2 separate regions of the Homo sapiens genome follow, and region 2 is linked to region 1. Evidence: promoter capture Hi-C in human tissues and cell types (Jung and others, 2019). All regions are on one chromosome and are shown on one strand. Each heading gives the region's core, a stretch centred on a gene start or on the middle of the fragment in contact. The rest is flanking DNA. Distances are from core to core; before and after follow the strand shown.

Region 1 (5,498 bases), core at 2,000-4,499:
ATTGATGGAGTTTTATGGTGCAGTTTTAATAATGTTTAAACTTATATTCATTCCAGGACACTGCTGAGACATATTTTTGGAAATGTTCCTGGGATAATTTTAATTACCATCAATGTATAAAAATAAATAACAGAATATCTGTCCAGATGGCATGATTGGTGATGTTTTTCAGAAAAACAGTTATTAAAACATCAATATCTGTCTTATATTTCCATCTAAAAAAGAAACAAAATCTGTTTACAGTGCATCACACTCAAAGTCTAAGTTACTTCTTAGTTTGAGTTGAGTCCCAAAAAAGCACCACTCTTTTAAAAAAATAAAGCACTCTTCTGCCATGTGGGGACACAGTGAAAAGACAGCTGTGTGTGGACCAGGAAGCAGACCCTGACCAGACACCAAATCTACCTTGATCTTAGATTTCTCAGCTTCTAGCACTGTGAGAAAATAAATTTCTGTTTATAAGCCAAAAAAAAGTAAATTAAGAAATACAGTGTAAAGTAGTGTGCTTAATAGGCATCTCTGATACAATTGAGGGCTCACCTGCTAACTTTGCTTATAGCAATAGAACTGCCAAAATAACAGACCAGGAAGCTGGACAAGATTTGTTTGGAATTTTAAGATCTAGTTATTTATTTATACAGCATTTCTGGCGTTTGAGTCTCTTATAGCAGCACATCCGGTCTACTTAATAAGAAACACAGAGATTTAAGACATTAACCAATCAACAACTATATCAGAAATTCCTTCTAGCCACAATCATAAACTAAAAAATTTCTATATAAATATGCAAAATATGTGCTCCTTCCATCTTTCTTCATTCTTCTCCCATCCAAACGTAGTATCATGTTTGATTTTATTACTATATTTGTTGCCTAGGATAGAAAACCCCAAACACATTCAATAAAGCAAGGTATTTCTATAATAATAATACTAAAAATGCAAAATGCATTGTTATTTACTACAGCCACCTTTCTGTAACAATGCACTGTACATTTTGAAATTGCTAAAAGAGTAAATTTTAAACGCTTTTACCACAAAAAAAAAGTACATGAGATGATGGATTTGTTAGCTAATCATTTGACAATGCAGACATATGTCAAAACATCACACTGTACCCCACAAATATATATTCTAAGCATTTCCTATATAATAACTTTTGTGGATATGTTACTGAGCATGGGGCACTTAGCTTCCTTTTTCTAGTTCACATAATCTTAGTGGCACTAATAGGAGGTGGGTAATGTTTCATAAAGAAACAATTTACTTTGATTACAGTGGATAAAGATTCTGAACTATGAGCAGTCTATCCTCAACAAAGAATGGTAAAGACAAAAACTACCTTCCTTTGTCTATTATCATTTGCCATCTTCTTTTGCAATTATAAAGAGTTTTGTTTTCACTTGGATGCAGAAGTTGAAAGAGAGACTGAGCAGCCATTCTTAGATTTAAATCCTCCCCCACTCCTAGGGATATAATAATTAATATATAACCTTTGGCGTTTGGCGTTGGGGCTTTTGAGTACTTTTCTTTCTTTCTTTTTCTTTTTTCTTATATAGGGTCTCCACTTTTTCTCTTCCTTTCAGGATATTGACAATTTTTATTCAACGCATTCTCCAAACCTCTTTTCCCCAGCTCAGATCTTCTGTACCAGGGCAGTTAATTACGATTACCTTAGACATTCCACATAACCCTTAAGAGAAGCTTACGAAAAGGGGTTTCTTTAAATCAACCACCAAGAGCACACACACCAGTCCCACTCCCCTTCCCCTCCTCTGGGAGCACCCCCCACCCCAGGCCTTCTAGCTCTACATTGCCAAAACTACACAACTCCCACTCCACCATAGCAAAGCTTTCTCAGGAAAGAGCACCACACAGCATCCCCTTTCCTCTCCCTGGAAACAGCGTTAACCAGGCCGGCAGCCTCAAAGCGCGCTTCCTGGATCCTTTGACCAGGATGCGCCAGGGGCCTGGGCTCCCGCTGGACACTGGCGCGCTCAGACTTTGAATAGGGCGTCAGGCGAAGAATGGCCAAACCCAGGGCAATTTCCGGGGTGGGGGGGGGGGGGCGCTTAGACTGCTGGTAAACTGTACCACGTCCACTCACCACCACCCAAGCCCTCCAACCCACAGCCAGGCCCGCCGCACTTAGGACTTGAAGTTTCAATGCTCCCTGCAAGGTGGGGCCATCCGGGCAGCGGCGAAATACAGGTTTTGGGCGGGGGCAGCCACAGCACCCAACCCTCTTGCAAAGCTGTGCCTCCCGAATTAGGGACAAACTCCCTGGGATTTGTTTTCTGCGGGAGAAAAGGCGGAGGGATGTGGGGGGAGTAAGGTGTGGTGGCGATTCGTGGAGGGCAAGGGTAAGGGGCAGTTACAGCCACATCTCTGCCCTGGACAGAGCCGGGTCCAGGGGCCGCGGGCCTGCCCGCCGCTCGGTTGTCAGCATCTCCTGTAGCCGGCGCGCACACTGCGCGCAAACACGCCCCCCAAAATCCCCACAACCTGTCAAACGGGCCCTACAGCTCGGAGCCTCCTGGCAGGAGGGAGAAACTTGTACCCAGACTCGCCAGCAGCCAGAATGCTGCTGTTTGCCTATGAGAACAATTTTTAAAGCGGAAATAATCATGATAATGAAATAAAAGGATCAAAAGCATCTTGACTTTTTCTGAGCCTTTGGGAAAAATAAAATTGTTGTTTTCTACCAGCCCGCGAATATTCCCAGTCGCCCGTGGCGACGCGGGGGTGGGGTCGGCGCTCAAGGCAGAAAGCGCGAGGCAGGTGCCCAGGAGAGCCGCGCAGAAGGGGACTGACTGGGGGGCCCTGGTCCCCGACGCCATTTGAGGGGCAGCGGCGCCCGCCTTACCTGTGGATGCAGTTTCCATGGCAACGGGCGACTGCCGGGCGGGGCCCGAGCCGGCTTCCCGCGACGCCGCTTCCCGGGCCCTGGCGCCCAACCCCGGGCTGGGCTCCCCAGCCTGCGGCGCCGGCGTGGCCCCTTTCGGCGTCACCGCTTCGTTCTCCCCCTCCCCCCGGTGCCTGAGCCACTGGGACCCGGGGCCGGCCAGCGGCAGCAGCTCGTCCTGCGGATCCCCCGGCGCGGCCATGGCTGGCGGTCCCCCGGCGCGGCGACGGCGGCTTGGCTGGGCAGAGGCTCGGTGGCTGCGCGGGCGCTCCCTGCTGCTGTCCCCGGAGGGACTCGGCGCTCAGGGAAGCTGCGGTGTCTCAGCGTCGCCGCCGCCTCTGCTGCAACTCCGCCGAGCCGCTGCCTGCCGCTCTTCCCGCTTCAGCTCCTCCTTCTCCCCCCTCCTCTTCCTCCGGCCCCGCCGCGGCCGCTGCCTGCGCTCCTCCTCCTACTCCACTCGCTGCTGCCGCCGCTGCTTCGCTATTCCCAATCCTGTTATTACGCAGGTGAAAATGGCCTGCTTGGTCCGGGTCCTCCTGGGCACGTCAGCCCCCAACCTGCAAATGGCAGGCCCCGGTTAGGGGATGTGCCAAATCCACTCGAATCTTCCTCTCGTTTGGGGAGGAAAAAAAAGGAAGAACCAGCAAGTAGCAGCAGCCACCAGCAGCGTCGCCTTCCCAACTGAGAAAGTTAAGCCCCGACTGGTGTCCTGGGTCCCGAGGCAAAGAGGGAAAGCTAGAGAACTCAGGGCCACAGTTCTGAGAGTGACCAGTATGAGTTGTGGAGGGGACACAGGTCTGAACGGGGAAGGGGTGGAGATGGGTTCTGATGGCAGATGGAGACCAGGGAAGCTGCAACCCCGCGGTTAAATCCTGCGTTTCCAGAATGGGCCTGAAAATAGTGGAGTAAAGAAATGAGTTATCAGGACAGCCTCCAAAAAAAGCTTAACAGATCTCACCCTGACCAGCCCTGAGGGCAAACAGGGTGTCAATAGGCAAGGACAAAAGCTGTACATTTGCTTTCAGAAACACTGAGCCAAGGCCATCCTAATCATAAGCTGTCTGTGCAGTCCGTTGTATTTCAGAATTTGGACATTCCATGAAGCTTGCATCTTTTTCTTTACAGTTCACTGTGATAAAATGGAAGATAGTCAGCAAATAAACCCAAACTCAGAGGAGGAAAGTGACTTGCCTTATCATATGTTGTGCCCATACGAAGACCCATCTTTTCAAATGTCTTGTGTTTTATTGGTTCCCAAGTTGTTTATATAATAAAATAATGTGCCTTTAAAAACTAAGATTCACCACAACACACAGGGTGAAGGAATAGGTTTTTCTGCTGTTTCTTCTCTAGGAAAGGTGGGCGCAGACGGTACCGCACACACTGTGAGACTGTGGGACTCTTGGCCACCATGCGCATCTTGAGGATTTCATACCTGTCCATTGGTATATTCAAAGGCCAACTTCAGGACCATTCAGGTGCTCCTCAATAATGCTAAAATGAAAAAGCCCAGAGTCTGCCTAATCTTTTGTTCTGCTAGTGCACTAATGTTCAAAAGATGACAATAAATTAGAGAAAAATCATTCACTAAACAATAAATATGGCCTCCTGAAGCCAGATATCCCTGGAAATCTGATGGTCACCAAAATTTTACATTTTTGACATACTCAAAATTATGTCTCATGATGGAAATATTCACTATCTAGATTGTGGTTATAGCTTCACAGGTGCAAACATATGTCAAAACTTATTGTTTACTGTAAATATGAACAATTTAATGTGTTGTCAGTTATAACTCAATAAATCTATAAAAATAATCTCATCCAAAAACAACAAAATAATTGGTTATCATGAATCATAATGATTTTTAAACATCTTTCCATGGGAAAACAAGAGTGTATTTAAAAAACCGTTAAGTTGAAAAGCTTATTCCACTGCTGTATTTCCATGGAGCTTAATCCTGTCTTGTAATTAGAGGGCACTTGTAAGTTTTTTCAAATCTATTACTTAGTATTCCCTAAAGCATCAGAAATACTAGATGGGAATTTCTCATGGTTTTATTACTGATAACAAGACAAGAACATAGACAATTCTAATGATATAACCTTAAAGTGGTTATTGATGAATACTAATATTTGAGAATTGCTATGCAAAGGAGTTACATACAAAATAATATGAAGTATATTCTTTTGTTTCTCTGAGAAACATGAATGAAAGTCATCATTAAAAAACTGGGAGACCTAAGCAAGCCTCTGTGTTTCCTTATGATTAATAGATAGGAAGTTTGGGGATATGATTCTAATTATTTGTCAATTTCTTTCATACTAATCAATACTCTCATTGAGAATGTGTGAAGGAAATAGCCAGTTAAATCTATTTAGAGTGTAGTTGTTAAAGGAAATTGAACATTATTGACAGTTCCATTTTGATAAAGTATTCTATTTTACACTGCTGAAAAGAGATGAGCACAAGATTTCAGTGTTAGCAATTTTCATTACTAACTTTCCTTATTAGACTCCACCTTTGGATGTATAAAAATTATCTATTTGGGGGAAGAAATTTTCAGGTTTATGCTATGACTTGAAATGATTCATGT
Region 2 (5,498 bases), core at 2,140-4,639, 390 kb before region 1:
ATATCTTTTTATAAAGCTGCTGTAGTGTGACAGGTCCTTCACCAGGTTATGTAAGGGTGTATGTCCACTGCTTGAACCCTGAAGGCTGGGGGGTAAGCCAAGGGCATGGTGCCCAGCCAAGAAGCAGGTATCCCTGAGAACCCAAATATCCCAGAGAATATCTGGGAACATACCAAGGAAAACAGTCCTATCACACATACACAGTAGGCAAAGAGCCAGAAAATTAGCTTAAAAGCAGCTTAGAGTCAGGAGGCAGGATGGGTCTCCACAGTTGTTCAGCTGCTTCCCAGGAGTGCCTTATATGGAAGTTCTAATAAATGCATCTACTTGCCAACCTGGACTTGTCTGAGTCATTCTTTGGTCTCTCGGCTCCCTCTCTATTTGGGGGGACATTGCAATCCCAGATTCTTCTCATAACAGCTCCTATAATATAAAGCCTCATTGACCTTTTGCTTTGTCTGACAGCAATATAATATAATGCTTAACAGCATGTGGTCTGTTCAGAGACCCACCTTCATGACCTGGATCTGCTACTCACTAACTAACCTCTGGTAAATTACCTAACTTCTCCAATTCTCCGTTTTATCATCTATTGAAAAACGATAATAACAGCACAGTACTGACCTTGTAGGATTCTTGTGAGGATTAAATGAGATGGCATGTATCAAGTGCTTAGCTTGGAAACTGATGCACAGTGAAGTATCCAATAAATGTATGTTGTTATTTTTATGTTCCATTTCAGATTTTGAAGACAGTATGTTCCAAATTTTTGCATACAACATAAATGGTTTCACATGTTTCAGATCACTATATGATGTAGAGATCCTTAAGGAAACTCTAATATTCAGAAACACCAAATCTTAAAAACAGCTATATTAGGATAGATTGTTTGCTATGTTAAAGGACTCTTTATGAGTAGAATAATTTACTGAATGTAGATCATTCTGTAGTAGATTTCATTTACTACTGAGATAAGATTCATTACTTAGCTGTTAGCACATTTAAAATTTTATTCCATTACAAAAATTTGATGTTCCACAACTTTTCAGGGCTTTCACATCCTATTATATCAAATAAAACACTATTATAAAATAAAACAAAAAAACAAAAAAAAACCCCAAATCCTAATGGTTCTCAAACCTTTTGGTCTTAGGACCCTTTTATACCTTAAGATTTGAGGACCCCAAAGAGTTTTTCTTTATATAAGTTATATCTATCAATATTTACTGTATTAGGAATTGGATATATCTGTTCATTACTTCATTTTAAAAATAACCCATTATACATTAACATATGAATAACACATTTTTGTGAAAATAACTGTTTGCCAAAACAAAAAAAATTATGAGAAAAGTGGCATTGTTTGATATTTTTGCAAACCTGTTTCATGTCTGGCTTAACAGAAGACAACTAGGTTCTCATATCTAGCTTCTGCATTCAATTGGTTGGGTTATCACATATCACATCGTAGCCTCTGAAGAACCCCACTGTACACTCTTGAGAGAATGAGAGTGAAAAGCAAATAATGTCATTATTATGAACACAGTTTTGACCCTCTGAACCCATGGAAAGGACCTTAGGGGCCCGCTGGGGCCCCAAGACCACACTGGATAACCAATGTCCTAGTTGAAAAGAAGTTTTTACAGGCCTGCTTTAAAATTCTCTTCTGAGAGCTGAGTGAAGAAATTTATCAAACACCCAACTCAGGCCTCTCCAGTCTCATGAGTGACACATTTATAAATAAGAAGCTAAGGGTGCCACTTACCCTCACAGCTTTCCCTGTGAATACTGAGCCAGTTGCACTGCTTTTGAAGGCTCTCATCTGGTTCAGTTCCAGAAGCCCTTTGTGATACTGTAAGGCAATTCGGGCTGTCACTCCTGAGCCAGTGGGACTTCTGTCAACCTGTTTCAGAATAAATGAAGACAGAATGTTCATAGTGTGTTCCATATTACCTGGCTTTTGTCCCTAAACATTACAGTTTTAATACCTGTTCATCTGCAAAAACACAAATGTTGGTGGTTGGTTCCTTGGTATAAGCATCTTTTCCATCTGTTAATATAGTTCCATATAAAAAGGCAAGGTCTTCACTATCAGGATGATTAATTTTAAACTGCAAGTAACAAAAAAAGATCACATGCAAAATAAATATTTTGATTCAAATTTATAAATAATGCAGATGGGTCATTCTTAGACATAACTTTTTAATCCTTATCATTTTTAAAATACCTTTTTGGGCAACGTATACTAATTGCTAGAAATTATGTCTTTGTCTAGATGAAGAAACATAGTTTTACTGCAATTTATAATTCTTATCATACTTTGAGTCCCTTCTAAGGAAGCTGTCCTGCATATAGCCTTTGCTAAAAAAGCAGTCCTATTTTATACACCCCTCCCACCCCAAATACACATAGTCTTTGCAGCACTGACCCCAGGATGGTCAATCCACAGGCTGGCGATGGCTGCTCAAACAGGATGAGCTAAGGCAATCATAGTCTTATTCTCAGGAGCTTAAGGAGGATAATGTGGGAAAATCAGGCTCTGAGTATCTAGAGCTGAAGTTAACACCAATGATAGAGACAAAGGCTGTGAGAGGATATAACATTCTGTAAGAATGCAGAAACTATTAGGCAAGAGAAACAATTGGAGGAAAAAAAGATTTATTGTAGACGATGAAGTCAGTTGATTCATCAAAAAGCAGCAGATATGCACACAAAGAAGCAGGCACTGGCAGGGTAGCTAAGTCACTCAATGGTAGATTCAGGCCCAAATATGCAAAGCTACTTGTTCTTGGAAGTCTAGTTCTTTAACTTTTCCTGGATTTCTGCAAACATTTACAGTATGACTGAGATTGCTATAATCTGACTTCCCTTGTATATGCTTACAATTAGTACTTTCTACTTCCAGTTACATGTCATTTAAAGCAATGGAACAGCTTTGGGTTCTTAACATCCAAAGAGTCCATCTGAAACCAAGTTAAAGCGGCCTGCAGATTGAATCTTTGTTCTCCATCCTCTTAAAGTGATACGCCCCACCTCCACTATAGCACATTCCAACATAACACTGTTCACAGGTATGCTCGCTTCCCCAACTGGAGCTAGCTCCTCAAAGGTGGGGTTTGTTCTTTCTTCGAGTCTCCAGGATCTAGCAGAATGTCTAACATATATACAGTATGTTTGTGGTAAATGTTTGTTAAAAGAGTGAATGAATTAAGATGAATTTATATTAACTTTAACTCTCCATCCCCATGGCCTTTTCCTAAATCTGCTTCAGCAGTGTGAATAGTCAACAGTTCACAGAGTAATTAATTGTACTGTCTGATACATCAATAACAGAACTTGTCCTCATTTTTCTCAGAATCCTTCCTCCCTCAAAGTCCACCCCTTGCCATCTTGTTGAGTTCAAACTCAAATGAGAAGTACAAAATTACACCTTTTATTAAGATATCCATGACTTTTTCTCTTGAATTCATGAAAAATTAGGAGAAATTATTTTGTGCCAAATTGTTAACTCAGACTATTAGCTGTCCTGCTTAATGGAACAGAAAACTGATGTAAATTCAGAGCTTCAAAAGTTGCTATCATAATATAATTGCACATATTGGTACTGGCAGTACCAGAAAAATAATTTAGAATACTGATACAGTGTATATTCTCATTTTAAGTTATAAATTATTTTAAAATAAAGCTTCAGAAAATGATAATTATTCGTACATTAGACACTATCTTACACAAGTTACTTTTTACTACTAATAAATTCTCACATACTAAATTCTCACGTACTAAACATTCAAATACTGTACATGTGTTTTATTTATAGGTCCCAATTTCAAGGTAAAATGTGCTTCACTCGTGCTAGAAGTGAAAGAATATCCTAGAATTATTATCTAAACTGATTTTATCAAATTAGCTTTCCCAAGTAAAAACTAGAGTTATTTAAGTAGTTATTTGAGTAACTTCTTAGCAATGTAGGAAAAAAATAATAGGAATTAATGTTCTCTATGAAATAAGAAAAAGGCTTAAATCTATTCTGTACACTATATTTTACATTTATTATTTTCAAGTTTAACAGAATGACCACACACATGCATTTAAAATTTGCAGAATTCTATAAATATATTTCTACACATTTAAGGAACTATAAACTATATTAGTATGTATGTATTATTAAATTTAGTAACTGCTAGGTGTGGTGGCTCACACCTGTAATCCCAACACTTTGGGAGGCCGAGCTGGGAGAATCACTTGAGGCCAGGAGTTTGAGGCCATCCTGGGCAACATAGTGACATCCTGTCTCTATATAAACACACACACACACTCACACAAACACAGATTTAGCTGGGTGTGATGGGGCATGCCTGTGGTCCCAGTTACTCTGGAGGCTGAGGCAGAAGCATCATTTTGAGCCTGGGAATTTGAAGTTACAGTAAGCTATGATCACACCACTGCACTACAGCCTGGGTGACAGAGCAAGACCCTGTCTCAAAAAAAATAATATTATCATTTACTGAACATTTACTATTGGCCAGACACTACTCTAAGTCCTTTACATGTATTGACTTATTTCATTCTCACAACCCTACAAAGCAGGTATTTTTTAATTTCCATTTTGCAGACAGGAAAACTGAGGCATATGGAGGTTACGTAACTTGCCCAAGGTTATATACGTTACCAGTGGTAAAGCTAGAACTCATAGATAGTTTTGCTCTAGAGCAGGAATGTCCAATCTTTTGGCTTCTCTGGGCCACACTGGGAGAAGAATTGTCTTGGGCCACACATAAGATACACTAACACTAACGAGAGCTGATGAGCTAAAAAAAAATTGCAAAAAAACTCATAATGTTTTAAGAAAGTTTACAAAATTTGTGTTGGGCCACATTCAAAGCCATCCTGGGCTGCATGTGGCTCACAGGCCACGGGTGGGACAAGCTTGCTCTAGAGCCTAAGATTTTAATAAGTACCCTATTCTTAGTACTATTAATAATTTAAACATCATTTAATTTTCTTTATAGACATAATAATGTATATTTCCTCCATGCCACAGAGAAGGGAATTGGTTATGAAGGCAGAGTATTACTGACCTGAGCTTTCACTGCCTCTGTCACTGCACTCGCTGCATCCACAAGGTCCCTGGTCTTTGCAGAACAAATGTCTAGTCCTAACTTTTCAGCAGTAACAAATGCATAAAATGCACCGCCATATGCAATGTCCACCATCACCTTTCCATGTCCAGGAACATCCACCATGAGATCTAAAAAAAAGATGTGTTTGGAAAGAAGATGTGTTTGTTAATAAGTATTTTAGCAATAAAATTCAAAGGATTTTTAATATGTTTATTTTTCAAGAGGGATGTTCTTTTCCTATCATAAAAATAATGAAGTAAAAATCCGTTTTTTAAATGAATAAGCATCGAGTGAATAATAGCTAGATGCATCATTCTATTTTTAACTTGATGATTGCAGAAGTTATAAACTAAAGCCATGCTTTCCCTAACTCATACA

Evidence for each region. The method cuts DNA at HindIII sites, captures the fragments that hold promoters and counts their contacts. A contact is called where the count stands out against the background at its distance.
Region 2: a fragment that was not itself captured here is called in contact with the fragment with the promoter of RTN1 in region 1 in 1 of the 25 tissues and cell types used here (hippocampus).

The regions. Positions count from the first base shown.
Region 1 is chr14:59,867,527-59,873,024 of GRCh38, forward strand. RTN1 (reticulon 1) reads right to left here and starts at 3,250. Exons shown (of 9, transcript NM_021136.3): 1 at 2,864-3,250. The coding sequence starts at 3,104. RefSeq lists a silencer at 3,159-3,258. The HindIII fragment of the contact is 4,177 bases long and covers 240-4,416 here.
Region 2 is chr14:59,474,104-59,479,601 of GRCh38, forward strand. It overlaps L3HYPDH (trans-L-3-hydroxyproline dehydratase), which reads right to left. Exons shown (of 5, transcript NM_144581.2): 2 at 5,079-5,248; 3 at 1,989-2,111; 4 at 1,766-1,903. Among named protein-coding and RNA genes, the nearest start is that of L3HYPDH, 7.6 kb to the right of the region's middle. The HindIII fragment of the contact is 4,181 bases long and covers 1,300-5,480 here.